3 separate regions of the Homo sapiens genome follow, and all the other regions are linked to region 1. Evidence: promoter capture Hi-C in human tissues and cell types (Jung and others, 2019). All regions are on one chromosome and are shown on one strand. Each heading gives the region's core, a stretch centred on a gene start or on the middle of the fragment in contact. The rest is flanking DNA. Distances are from core to core; before and after follow the strand shown. Region 1 holds the start of DMWD (DM1 locus, WD repeat containing). Region 2 has its middle 48 kb from the start of PNMA8B. Region 3 overlaps PRKD2 (protein kinase D2).

Region 1 (4,347 bases), core at 1,289-3,788:
TGCAGGCACAGCCCACCATGCCCAGCTAAATTTTTTCAATTTTTCAGAGTCTCACTATGAGATGGGGTTTATGTTGCCCAAGCTGGTCTTGAACTCCTGGCATCAAGCGATCTGCCTGTCTTGGCCTCCCAAAGTGTTAGGATACAGCTGTGAGCCACCGCGACCAGCCCCACCTGTTTTATTTATTCATTTACCTAGCCATCAAACCATTATTGAAATACCTCCTGTCAGCCCACCCCTGTGCTGGGGACACAGACAGCTGCAGTCCTGCCTTCCTGGACCTCACAACACTATAGGGAGAGAGACTCATTTCCAGACAGTGACAGCCCAAATGGGGAAGCCCAGAGGACTGACAGAGCTCCCGAGCCAACTCTTAAAGGGTCAAGAAAAGAATGGGGAAAGGCATTCCAAGAATAGGGAACAGAATGTGCAAAGACCCAAGGACAAGAGAGAGTGTGATATGTTGGGGTAGTTTTTCAAGCCTCATTTTAGGTGGTGGATAGTGTGAGGAGTTAGTGGTGAGATATGAGATTGAAAAGAGGTTGGCAGGGGCCAGATCACTTGGGGCTTAACTTTCCCCTGAGAGCACTAGGGAGCTACAGATGGGTTTTGAGCAGGGGAGGGCCCTGATCATATTCATGCTTTAGAAAGACCTCTCTAGGCCTAGTGCAGTGGGTCACACATGTAATCCCAGCACTTAGGGAGGCCAAGGTTGGCGGATCACCTGAGGTCAGGAGTTTGAGACCAGCATGCCCAACATGGTGAAACCCCGTCTCTACTAAAACTACAAAAAAGTAGCTGGGTGTGGTGGCAGGTGCCTGTAATCCCAGCCACTCAGGAGGCTAAGGCAGGAGAATCACTTGAACCCAGGAGGCAGAGGTTGCAGTGAGCCAAAATCGTCCCATTGCACTCCAGCCCACGTGACAAGAGCGAGACTCTGTCTCAAAAAAAAAAAAAAAAAAAAAAAAAGCCGGGTGCAGTGGCTCATGCCTGTACTCCCAGCACTTTGGGAGGCCGAGGTGGGTGGATCACCTGAGGTCAGGAGTTCGAGACCAGACTGGCCAACATGGTGAAACCCCGTCTCTGAGCCGAGATGGAGCCATTGCACTCCAGCCTGGGTGACAGGGTGAGACTGTCTCAAAAAAAACAAAAACAAAAACAAAATAAAACCTCTCTACATGCCAAGTGAAAGGTGGAAGTGGGGGTGAGACAGAAATCTGGGAGACCAAGAGACACGGTTGATGTGGGGGTGGGGGAAGGGCTTGGGTAGAGGAGAAGCTTGGATCAGGGAGAACAAGGAACTGAGAAAGAGGAATTCCACGTGGTCGAATGCAAAAGACTTGGAGGCTGTAAGCGGGGGCAGAGTGAAGATAAATGGTACACATCTAGGAAGACACCCAGGTCTGTGGCCTGGTTGACTGAGTGGACGGCAGAGCTAGCCCTAAGGTGGGGATGCAAGAGAGGTGGAGGATTTGGTGTAAGACGTCAATTTCATTGTAGGATTCTTTTTTCTTTCTTTTTTTTTTTTTTTTAGAGAGACTGAGTCTGACTCTGTCCCCCAGGCTTTAGTGCAGTGATGTGAATTCATAGCAGTCTTGATCTCCTGGGCTCAAACGATCCTCCCACCTCAGCCTCCCAAAGTGCTGGGATTCTCGGATTCCAGGCATGAGCCACCATGCCCGAACCATTGTAGGATTTTTTTTTTTAAGTGTGAGATGCCCTTGGGACACTCTAGGGAGAAATCGTAGAGGCCATTGACTACATGAGACTAGAAAGATCTATGATGGGGCTGGGTGGCTTCAGCAGACATGGGGAGCACTGGCTATGAGTAGGAGCTGTTGGGATCAGGGGGAGACTTTGGGTTACGAGTGGATCACTGGGACACTGGGGCACCGTGGGGATCAATACAATTTGGGAATCAGAGGTAGGTTTTGGAGGACAAGTGAGGTTGTTGAAAATAAGAAAATCATGGAAATATACATTGGAGGTTGGTGGAAAATATGAAGGATGTTTGGAGTTAGCATTAATCAATAGTGGGTCAGAGGAAGTCCTCTGAGTTGTGTGGGGACACAGGGATTTGGTGGGTCACCAAGGGTGGGGAAGAATGGTAGCAGATGCTGTGGTCATTCAGGGATTTGAATATGTCAGTGGGAAACACTGGAGGTCAGGGGAGTGTATATTGGGCGTCTAAGGAGAGACCAGGGTCACTTGGGGTTGGCTGTGACTTCATGGGAAGGCTGGACTATGGATGAGGGCTTCTTTGTCGTGGGGGAAAAAAAAAAAAAAATCCCTCCGTTGCTAGGCAAACGTTCCCAGGGCGCGGTTGCTAAGGACTTGAGCTTTCTAACTGGCCACGCCTCTTTCCATTGCGGGCTCCGCCCCCGCAGCCAACCACAAGTCGGTCACAGGCTCAAAGGCCGCGCCCACCTTCTCGCCCCGCCCACAGTCCCAGCACCGTTACCCGAGCGACCGCGGGGATTCGTCCCGCCTCCGGATCTGGGTGCCAATCGAAGAGGCGTTGCCCGGGCGACGACCCCACCTTTTCCGGCGCGGGCCAGCGGCTTCCGGGAGGGGGCCCGGCTGCGGGCGGCAGTCCGGCAGTGGCGGGGCCCGGGGGGCGCCCAAGATGGCGGCGGGCGGCGCGGAGGGCGGCTCGGGCCCCGGCGCCGCCATGGGGGACTGCGCGGAGATTAAGTCGCAATTCCGCACGCGCGAGGGTTTCTACAAGCTACTCCCGGGCGACGGCGCCGCTCGCAGGTCGGGTCCGGCTTCCGCCCAGACTCCGGTGCCGCCTCAGCCACCGCAGCCCCCGCCCGGCCCTGCCTCCGCCTCCGGTCCCGGCGCTGCAGGCCCCGCGTCGTCCCCGCCGCCCGCAGGCCCCGGACCCGGGCCCGCCCTGCCCGCCGTGCGCCTCAGCCTCGTGCGCCTCGGGGAGCCGGACAGCGCCGGGGCCGGGGAGCCGCCCGCCACGCCCGCGGGGCTGGGCTCGGGGGGAGACCGCGTCTGCTTCAACTTGGGCCGTGAGCTCTATTTCTACCCAGGCTGCTGTCGTCGTGGGAGCCAACGGGTGAGCGGCCTGCATCGTGGGGCCCTGGGTGCTGAAAGGATGGAGGTTCCAGAGAACTGATAGGAGGGTCCCCGAATTGATATGGGGCCCTGAGATAGGCATTCTAAATGTGATGGACGTTGTAGGGCGACAGCATTGGAGGGAGTACAGGATTCTGAAATGTGATGAGAGGCCCGCGGGGTGCTGGGCAGGCATCTTGGAGGTGATGGGGGAAATCCCCTTTACCCCCGTTATGCGTAGGAGTTCTGGGATGGTGACTATTGGACATGATGGGGTATCTGAGATGAGGTGGGATCCCCCGGGTTCTGGGGTGGCAGGCATTCTGCAGGTAATGGGGAATCATGAGGTGATGCAAGCCCAGAGGTGATGGAGAACCCAGTATTGCAGCCTGGAGGTGTGGGAGAGGGGTCTTGAGATTGAGCCCAGGAATGAGGAGAAGTCTAGAAGTGATGGGGGCCTTGAAGGTGATAGGGGATCCAGAAGCTGAATGGGATTCTAGAGAAAATTGGGGTCTGGAAGTCATGAGGGTCCTGGAGGAGATGAGCGTCCGGAAGCTGATGGGAGCTCTCAAGGGAATGAGAGGCCCTGGCAGGGGAATCTGCAGGTGTGATTCAGGACATCTCTAAAGCGATGTGGTGAGAACCCTGGCCGTTTATGGTGATCCCAGAAATGATGGGGATCCTTCGGAGCCCCTAGGTAATAAATGGGCCTAAAATGTGGGAGACCGTGAGGTTTGACGGGTCCCAGAACTGTGGCGGTTTAGGGACTACAAAGTGAAGAGAATGCTAGGATGTTAGGCTTTAGAGTCCTGGAAATTTGGGTGACCTCAAGGTTTGGGGGTCTTGGAATAGTGTGGTACTAGGTCCCAAGGGAGTTGCTGAGGTTATAGGATGGAGTGGTGAGGCTAAAAGGAATCGGAGCTTAGGAACTGTGTGGACCCAGAACCCTGATTATGTGGACAAGGGTGTCTCTGAATTAGAGGTGACCCAACTTTGGGGAGGCACTGTGGTCAAGGGGGATCCTTACCATCTTTTTTGCTACTCTTGTCTGTGATTTGGGTCCCCTTCCCGTCTGTGGTTGCCCCGTCCTTCGCAATCCACCTACTCACCTCCCCACTTCCCTCTGGGTTCTAACCCTGCTTCCTCTTAGTGGTTTCCCCCAACCTCAACATCCTCTTCCTTCTCCTCAGTGGCATACACCATTAACTCCTTTTCTCCCACCCCTCAAGTCCATTGACCTCAACAAGCCAATTGACAAGCGGATCTACAAGGGCACCCAGC
Region 2 (4,866 bases), core at 686-3,185, 750 kb before region 1:
ACAGGCATGCGCCACCATGCCTGGCTAATTTTTTTTTTTTTTGGATTTTTAGTAGAGACGGGGTTTTGCCATGTTGGCCAGGCTGGTCTTGAACTCCTGATCTCAGGTTATCTGCTCTCTTCTGCCTCCCAAACTGCTGGGATTATAGGCATGAGCCACCGCGCCCAGCCCCAGGTGCTTTTGAAAGCACTGGGCATACAGCAGTGAGTGAAGCAGTGAGTGAGTAAAAAGTTCCTGTCCTGTCCTTTCAGAGATTCTGATCTTTGTGTAAGGCAGCACACAATGAAGTATTTTAAAGACAAAATATCAGCAAATTCTCAAAGCAACTTTGAGAAGCAGACATCATTTTGAAATCCCATTCTACAGATAAGTGCGCTGAGGCTGCAGTAGCAAAGCTGGAGTTTGAACCTAGATCTGTGCGAGTCCAAAGGCTAAATTCTCTCTCTCTCTCTCTTTTTTTTTTTTTTTTTTTTGAGACAGAGTCTTGCTCTGTTGCCCAGGCTGGAGTACAGTAGTGCGATCTCAGTTCACTGCCACCTCTGCCTCCTGGGTTCAAGCGATTCTCCTCCCTCAGCCTCCTGAGTAGCTGGGATTACAGGTGCCTGCCACCATGCCCAGCTGATTTTTGTATTTTTAGCAGAGATGGGGTTTCACCATGTTGGCTAGGTTGGTCTTGAACTCCTGACCTCAAGTGAGCCTGCCTCGGCCTCCCAAAGTGCTGGGATTATAGGCACGAGCCACCACACATGACTCAAAGGCTAAACTCTTGAGAGTGGGCCATGCTGCCCCAAGAAGCTCCACTGGATTTATTTGAAGGTCCTTGCCAAATCAGTTGGGGAAAAAAAGGCAGATTCAGCCCATGGATCCTTAAGTACCACTCGAAGAGTGGCATGCTTTTCCCAAATGTCACCTTTTGTCTTTAAGGCAAAGGTGGTGCCAGATCTTCAGCTCTCATGTCTCCTGCACAAACTCTCCCAGGCGTGAGAAGAGACTCCACTCTGCAGAAACTCTGTCTCTAAGGGGGAAGTGACAGTCAGAGAAGGGAACAGGGATATTACTGAGGCCAGAAGGCCCCTCTCCCCTCAGTGAGGCCCACGCTCGTGCCCAAAGCCTGTCTGTCTTCCTAAATAATGCAGTGTGGAAGAGTAGAGGCTTTGCAGCCAAGCAGACAGGATTTCATAACCCTGGTTCCAGTACTTCCCAGTGTGTGATCTTGGACCATCAACTGGGCCTCTGAACCTCAATCTCCTCCTCTATAAAAGTGGCACAATGGCCGCAGGCGGTGGCTCACGCCTGTAATCCCAGCATTTTGGGAGGCCGAGGTGGGCGGATCACTTGAGGTCAGGAGTTTGAGACCAGCCTGGCCAACGTGGCGAAACACTGTCTCTACTAAAAATACAAAAATTAGCCGGGCGTGGTGGTGGGCACCTGTAATCTCAGCTATTCAGGAGGCTGAGGCAGGAGAATCACTTGAACCCAGGAGGCGGAGGTTGCAGTGAGCCGAGATAGTGCCATTGCACTCCAGCCTGGGCAACAAGAGCAGAACTCTATCTCAAATAAAACCCAGAAAACCAAAAAAAAAAAAAAAAAAAAAAACCCAAAACAAAACAAAAAGAAAAAACAAAAACAACAACAACAAAAAATGGCACAGTAATAGCTTAATTCCCAAGCTTGTTCAGGATTTTGTGGGTCAGGAATGTGAAAAGGGTTTGACTGGATGTTCATTTCTGTTCCACGTGGCATCATGTGATGAGGGCTGGAGGACCCACCTCCAAGATGGCTTCTTCACTCCCATGTCTGGAAGCTTCAATTCTCCTGGGCCTTCTCACAGCTCCATGCTCTTAGGGGAGCTGCAATTCTTTTTTTATTATTTATTTATTTATTTATTTGAGACGGAGTTTCGCTCTGTCGCCTAGGCTGGAGTGCAGTGGCCGCGATCTGGGCTCACTGAAAGCTCCACCTCCTGGGTTCACACCATTCTCTTGCCTCAGTCTCCCGAGTAGCTGGGACTGCAGGCGCCTGCCACCACGCCCGGCTAATTTTTGTATTTTTAGTAGAGACGGGGTTTCACCGTGTTAGCCAGGATGGTCACGATCTCCTGACCTCGTGATCCGCCGCCTTGGCCTCCCAAAGTGCTGGGATTACAGGCGTGAGCCACCGCGCCCGGCTGGGGAGTTGCAATTCTTACACAGTAGCCTGGGAGCCAAAGAGATCACGACGGAATCTGCTGGTTCCCTTAAAATGTAGATCCAGGCCTGGCGGTGTCACTTGTTTGTTTGTTTGTTTGTTTGTTTAGACAGGGTCTCGTTCTGTCACCCAGGCTGGAGTGCAGCGGCGCCATCATAGCTCACCGCAGCCTCTACCTCCTAGGCTCAAGGGATCCTCTTGCCTCAGCCTCCCGAGTAGCTGGGACTACAGGTGCGGGCCACCACGCCAGCCTATTTTTAAAAGTTATATTTTTGGCCGGGAGTGGTGGCTCACGCCTGTAATCCCAACAGTTTGGGAGGCGGAGGTGGGTGGAAGTCGGGAGTTCAAGACCAGCCTGACCAACATGGATATACCCTGTCTCTACTAAAAATACAAAATTAGCCACGTGCGGTGGCGGACCCCTGTCATTCCAGCTACTCGGGAGGCTGAGGCAGGAGAATCGCTTGAACCCAGGAGGCGGAGTCTGTGGTGAGCCGAGATCACGCCATTGCACTCCAGCCTGGGCGACAAGAGCGAAACTCCGTCTCACAACAAAACAAAAAAGTTATTTTTAGTAGAGTTGGGGTCTTTCTGTGTTGCCCAGGTTGGTCTTGCAGTCTTGGGATCAAGCGATCCGCCCACCTCTGCTTCTCGGTGTTGGAATTACAGGCGTGAGCCGCCATGCCCAGCACAGTGTCACATCTGTCATATTCTATGGGTCAAAGCAGTCAAGGGTTCTTTCTCAATCAGACTAAGACCAACAGGAACAAGCTTATTGTATTAATTTGCTAGGGCAGCCTTAACAGACAAGAAGGGAGGTGAGTCGCCTTTTAGTTTAAGTAGATACGGTCATGCTATTCTCTAATTGGCCACCAGATGGCGCGCTGGACTTACTATTAGTACAGTTTGTAATTGCCCTTCCGAGAGTGGCCACCGCCACTCAAGCGACTGGACACTGGACTAAGTGCTTCTGTTAATTTGGATAAGACAAGACTCTCACTTTCTTTGATAAAATATAAATCTAGAAGAGCCCTAGGCTTTTATTGCATCATGATCATGGAAGGAGAGAAATGATCCTTTTCTGATTTGCCAGAGAAAACCAACCAGTATTTATTCTTTAGGAAATACAGAGATGCTATTTAACCTCCTGGTCACCATAGCAACAAATAATCAAGGAAGACAACCAATCAGAATGCAGGTTTCTTTGGGAGGTTCTTTTTTTTTTTTTTCAGATATTGCAACAATTTCTAAAAAAATCTTAGACTCTTTTGTTCAAATTATCCTTTCAAGGAAAGACACAAATGAACAGAGTTAACAAATGAGGCTGGTAACAGGAAAATTAACTGGAGCTCCTGGCTGCACGGGAGAACAGAATGAATGTTTAGGGTATGTTCTCAATGTGCCACTCTATTAAAATTGATTTTTTTTTTTTTTTTTTTTTTTTTTGTAGACAGAGTCTTGCTCTGTCACCCAGGCTGGAGTGCAGTGGCGTGATCTCGGTTCAATGCAAACTTCGCCTCCCAGGTTCAAGCGATTTTCCTGCCTCAGCCTCCCGAGTAGCAGGGATGATAGGTGCCTGCCACCACGCCCGGCTAATTTTTTTGTATTTTTAGTAGGGATGGAGTTTCACCATGTTGGCCAGGCTGGTCTCAAACTCCTGACTTCAAGTGATCCGCCCTCCTCGGCCTCCTAAAGTGAAAAAACTAATTATTTAGAGCAATTTCATGATGCAGAATAGAACCCCTTCCTATACAGCTGCAAGAGAGAACGGGCTTTTTTTTTTTTATGTTTGAAAGCACTGACTTTGCTAAGCGTGGTGGCTCATGCCTGTAATCCCAACACTGGGAATCTGAGATGGGAGGACCACTTAAGCCCAGGAGGCCAAGGCTGCAGTGAGCTATGTTTGCACCACTGCACTCCAGCCTGGGCAATGGAGTGAGACCCTGTCTCAAAAAAATGCAATAATTAAATATAATAAACACTTGAAACAAACTTTATAGGAACCACAGTCTCAAGATGAAGAGTTACATTCCAGAAAGAATCCACACAAGACCACTGGGCTTAACATTCTGTCTTATAGGCAAGCTTTTTGCTTACAATTCACCCAGGAAATAAACATGATATATATAGATCCAATGTCCATTCTTTGTTTTTATTTGTTTTTTTTTGTTTGTTTGTTTTTTGGAGACTGAGTCTCACTCTTGTCACCCAGGCTGGAGTGCAATGGTGAGATCTCAGCTCCCTGCAACCTCTGCCTCCCGGAGTCAAGCGATTCTCCTGCCTCAGCCTCCCGAGTAGCTGGGATTACAGGCTCCTGCCACCACGTCCGGCTAAATTTCATATTTTTAGTGGAGACGGGGTTTCACCATGTTGGCCAGGCTGGTCTCAAACTCCTGACCTCAGATGATCCGCCCGCCTCAGCCTCCCAAAGTGCTGGGATTACAGGCGTGAGCCACCGCGCCCGGCCTCATTTTTTCATTCATTCAGTTTACATTTACTGAGCATCTCCTCAGTGCCAGTATAATTCAGGAACATAGAAGTGAACAATTCGAACATAGGTTTCTGCTCATATGGACCTTACCATCTTGTAACCTAATTAGAACCTTCCCTTGCCTGCCTGGGAAACACCTGTGCCCACAGTCCCTCCAGTCCCGAGTTTCCCATTGTGACAAATTTAAT
Region 3 (4,421 bases), core at 312-2,811, 920 kb before region 1:
CCTCAGCCTCCCGAGTAGCTGGGATTACAGGCGCCTGCTACCACACGTGGCTAATTTTTGTATTTTTAGTAGAGACGGGATTTCACCTTGTTGGCCAGGCTGGTCTCGAACTGCTGATCTTAAGTGATCTGCCCACCTCAGCCTCCCAAAGTGCTGCGATTACAGGTGTGAGCCACCGCTCCCGGCCCTGTTATTTTGTTTTGAGGCAGGGTCTTGTTCTGTCACCCAGGCTGGAATGCAGTGGCATGACCACCACTCACTGCAGCCTCTACCTCCCAGACTGAAGCAATCATCCCGCCTCAGCCTCCTGAGGTGGCTGGACTATAGGCATTACAGGCATGCACCACCACACTGGGCTTTTTTTTTTTTTCTTTTTTTTAGACAGAATCTTACTCTGTCACCCAGGCTGGAGTGCCGTGGCATGATCTTGGCTCACGGCAACCTCTGCCTCCCGGGTTCAAGCAATTCTCCTGCCTCAGCCTCCTGAGTAGCTGGGATTACAGGCACGCGGCACCAGGCCTGGCTAATTTTTGTATTTTTAGTAGAGACGGGGTTTCATCATGTTGGCCAGGCTGGTTTCGAACTTCTGACCTCAAGTGATCCGCCCACCTGGGCCTCCCAAAGTGCTGGGATTACAGATGTGAGCCACCGGGCACCGCCTATCCATGTTCTTTTTTGTTGTTGGTGGTGGTATTTTTAATTAAAAATTTTTTAATTTGGTAAAATATACATAACATAAAAATTACTATTTTAGGCCGGGTGCAGTGGCTCACGCCTGTAATCCCAACACTTTGAGAGACCGAGGCGGGCAGATCACCTGAGGTCGGGAGTTTGAGACCATCCTGGCCAACATGGTGAAACTCCGTCTCTACTAAAAATACAAAAATTAGTCGGGTGTGGTGGCGCATGCCTGTAATCCCAGCTACTCTGGAGGCTGAGGCAGGAGAACTGCTTGAACCCGGGAGGCGGACTTGTGGTGAGCCGAGATCTCACTACTGTACTCCAGCCTGGGTGACAGAGTGAAACTCTCTAACAAACACAAACAAAAAAGCCCACAACATTTTAAGCACTTTTAAGCGTACAGTTCAGTAATTTAAAGTTCACGCACACTGTTGTGCAGCCGGTCTCCAGAACTGTTGTCATCTTGCGAAACTGAAGCTCCTTGCCCGTTAAACAACTCCCCAATTCCCGCTCTGTCCCTGCCCAGGGCGTAGGGATATATGTGTTTTGTTCAGGGGTGGAGCTGGGATTTGAACCCAGGCAGAATGTAGTATGAGAGCAAATGAAGGAAGGAAGGAAAGATCACACCTTGCGGCTGGGAGCACTGTGAGAAATCAGGGAACGTGGGGTCTGGAAAAGCTTTGGCCTACCCCGCCTCAAGCATCCACCCCTATTTTCCGCCTACAGCCTCGGCCACCTTCGAGGACTTCCAGATCCGCCCGCACGCCCTCACGGTGCACTCCTATCGGGCGCCTGCCTTCTGTGATCACTGCGGGGAGATGCTCTTCGGCCTAGTGCGCCAGGGCCTCAAGTGCGATGGTGAGAGCTAAAGGGTTGGGGGCGGGGCCTGGGGCGGGGCTCTGCACCGGGGGCGGAGCGTAATGGTCCTGGCACGGGGACAGCGTGGGGAGGAGGAGCGGGTCTCAGAGCTGGGGGCGCAGCCTAGGAAGTAATAATGGGAAGAAGGATGGGCCCAGAAGCAGAGCTTGGGGAAGGAGTGGTGGGGCTGGGCCGGGGCTCAGGTCTAGGGGCGGAGCCTAGGAGGTGGAGCTGGGAGGGACAAGTAGGGGCTTAAGAACAGAGCCTAGGGGAGCAGAAGGGTGGCGGGGGAAGAGGGTGGGGCCTCTATCAGTTAGGGATCAAGCAGAGAAACATCCAGGAGGAGATATATATTGAGATATTTATATGCAAGGAATCAGCTTACAGAATTGTGTGGGCTGGCTAGGCAACTCAAATCTGGCTGGGCACAGTGGGGGAGGCCAGTAATCCCAGCACTTTGGGAGGCAAAGGTAGGTGGATCACTTGAGGCCAGGAGTTCAAGACCAGCCTGGGCAACATAGCAAGACTCTGCCTGTACAAAAAATAATTAGCCAAGCATGGTGACAGACACTTGTGGTCCCAGCCACTTGGGAGGCTGAGGCGGGAGGATCACTTGAGCCTGGGAGCTCGACACTGTAGTGAGCCCTGATTGCACCACTGCACACCAGCCTGGGTGACAGAGCGAGACCCTGGCTCAAAAACAGGAAAAAGGCCGGACACGGTGGCTCATGCCTGTAATCCCAGCACTTTGGGAGGCCGAGGCGGGTGGATCACGAGGTCAGGAGATTGAGACCCTCCTGGCTAACATGGTGAAACCCCGTCTCTACTAAAAATACAAAAAATTAGCCGGACGTGGTGGCACACGCCTGTAGTCCCAGCTACTTGGGAGGCTGAGGCAGGAGAATTGCTTGGACCTGAGAGGAGGAGGTTGCAGTGAGCCGAGATTGTGCCACTGCACTCCAGCCTGGTGATAGAGTGAGACTCCTTCTGAAAACAGAAACAAAAACAAAACAATAAAAAGAAAAAGAAAAAAAAATCCATCCTATCAGGAAGGGCAAGTGGGAACTCAGGCACAAGCTGAAGCTGATGTCCACAGGTGGAATTTCTTCATCCGAAAAGTCTCTGATCTGCTTTTTAAAACATTCAGCTGATTGAATGAGACCCACCTAGAACAAGCAGGATCACCTCTCCCACTTACAGTCAGCTGATTATGGATTTTCATCACATCCAGAAAATACCTCCACTGGGCCGGGTGCGGTGGCTCACGCCTGTAATCCCAGCACTCTGGGAGGCCGAGGCAGGTGAATCACCTGAGGTCAGGAGTTCGAGACCAGCCTGTCCAACATGGTGAAACCCCGTCTCTACTAAAAATACAAAAAAGCCGGCGTGTTGGTGGACGCCTGTAATTCCAGCTACTCGGGAGGCTCAGTCAGGAGAATCTCTTGAACCCGGGAGGCAGAGCTTGCAGTGAGCTGAGATTGCACCATTACACTCCAGCCTGGGCAACAAGAGCAAAACTCTGTCTCAAAAAAATGAAAAGAAAAGAAAATACCTCCATGGGGCCTTCTCTTCCCAGTTCTTCCTGGAGTCGGGGAAAAGCTGGGTTGAGAAGGTGAAAAGAAAAAACAAACCTTGACTGGGCACAGTGGTTCACACCTGTAACCCCAGCACTTTGGAGGCTGAGGCAGGCGGATCATGAGGTCAAGAGATTGAGACCACCCTGGCCAACATGGTGAAACCCCATCTCTCCTAAAAATACAAAAATTAGCGGGCGTGGTGGCATGTGCCTATAGTCCCAGCTACTTGGGAGGCTGAGGTAGGAGAATCACTTGAACCCAGGAGACAGAGGTTGCAGTGAGCCGAGATCGTGCCACTGCACTCCAGCCTGGCAACAGAGCGAGACTCCGTCTCAAAAAAAAAAAAAAAAAAAAAAACCACAAACAAACCAACCTTCATGGCAACATCTAGATTAGTGTCTGAATAACTGTGGATCTCGCCTAGCCAAGCTGACACATTAACATGACTATCAGGGTCCATCTCTTGTCAACCTGGCACCTGTCTTAGTTTGTCAGGGCTGCCTTAACAAAATACCACCCTGCGTGGCTTAAATGACAGACATTTACTTCTCAAAATCCCTGGAATTGTGAGAGGCTGGAAAGACAAAGATCCAGATTCTGGCAGGGTTCTGTTTCTGGTGTAGCCTGCTTTCCTGCCTTGCAGAGGGCCATCATTTCACTGTGCGCTCACATGGGACACGGAGAGAGAGATCCCTGGTATCTCTTCCCTTTATAAGGAAGGCCAGGCATGGTGGCTCATGCCTATAATCCCAGCACTTTGGGAGGATGGTGGATCGCTTGAGTCCAGGAGTTCGAGACCAGCATGGGCAACATGGTGAAACCCCGTCTCTAAAAAATACAACAAATTGGCCAGGCATGGTGGTGCATACCTCTAGTCCTAGCTACTCAAGAGGCTGAGGTGGGAGGATCACCTGGGCCTGGGAGGTTGAGGCTGCGGTGAGCCGTGATCATGCCACTGCACTCCAGCCTAGGTGACAGAACACGATTGTCTCAGAAAAAAAAAAAAAAAAAAAAAAAAAAAGGTCACCAGTCCCATTGGATTACAGCCACACTCTTTCGGCCTCAATTAACCTTAATTACCTCCATAAAGGCACCGTCTCCAGATATAGTTGCATTGGAGGTTAGGGTTTCAACATAAGAATTTTGGGGGAGACACAGACATTTAGTCCATAACAGCACCCATACATATCTCCTTAAATCATAGTTTAAAAATATACAGGTTTTCTTTTTTGGAGACAGCGTCTCAGTCTGTCACCCAGGCTGGAGTGCAGTGGCGCGATCTCAGCTCACCACAACCTCCACTTC

Evidence for each region. The method cuts DNA at HindIII sites, captures the fragments that hold promoters and counts their contacts. A contact is called where the count stands out against the background at its distance.
Region 2: a fragment that was not itself captured here is called in contact with the fragment with the promoter of DMWD in region 1 in 2 of the 25 tissues and cell types used here (dorsolateral prefrontal cortex and hippocampus).
Region 3: a fragment that was not itself captured here is called in contact with the fragment with the promoter of DMWD in region 1 in 1 of the 25 tissues and cell types used here (psoas muscle).

Annotation. Positions count from the first base shown.
Region 1 is chr19:45,791,036-45,795,382 of GRCh38, reverse strand. It overlaps DMWD (DM1 locus, WD repeat containing), which reads left to right and starts at 2,538. Exons shown (of 5, transcript NM_004943.2): 1 at 2,538-3,067; 2 at 4,296-4,347. The coding sequence starts at 2,627. RefSeq lists a silencer at 2,410-2,889 and enhancers at 4,038-4,087, 4,108-4,167. The HindIII fragment of the contact is 5,315 bases long and covers 1-3,805 here.
Region 2 is chr19:46,541,063-46,545,928 of GRCh38, reverse strand. It overlaps the pseudogene PPP5D1P. Among named protein-coding and RNA genes, the nearest start is that of PNMA8B, 48 kb to the right of the region's middle. The HindIII fragment of the contact is 3,360 bases long and covers 256-3,615 here.
Region 3 is chr19:46,708,025-46,712,445 of GRCh38, reverse strand. PRKD2 (protein kinase D2) reads left to right here. Exons shown (of 18, transcript NM_016457.5): 3 at 1,408-1,539. MIR320E (microRNA 320e) reads left to right here and starts at 3,092; the gene lies at 3,092-3,164. RefSeq lists an enhancer at 1,779-2,597. The HindIII fragment of the contact is 4,265 bases long and covers 1-3,693 here.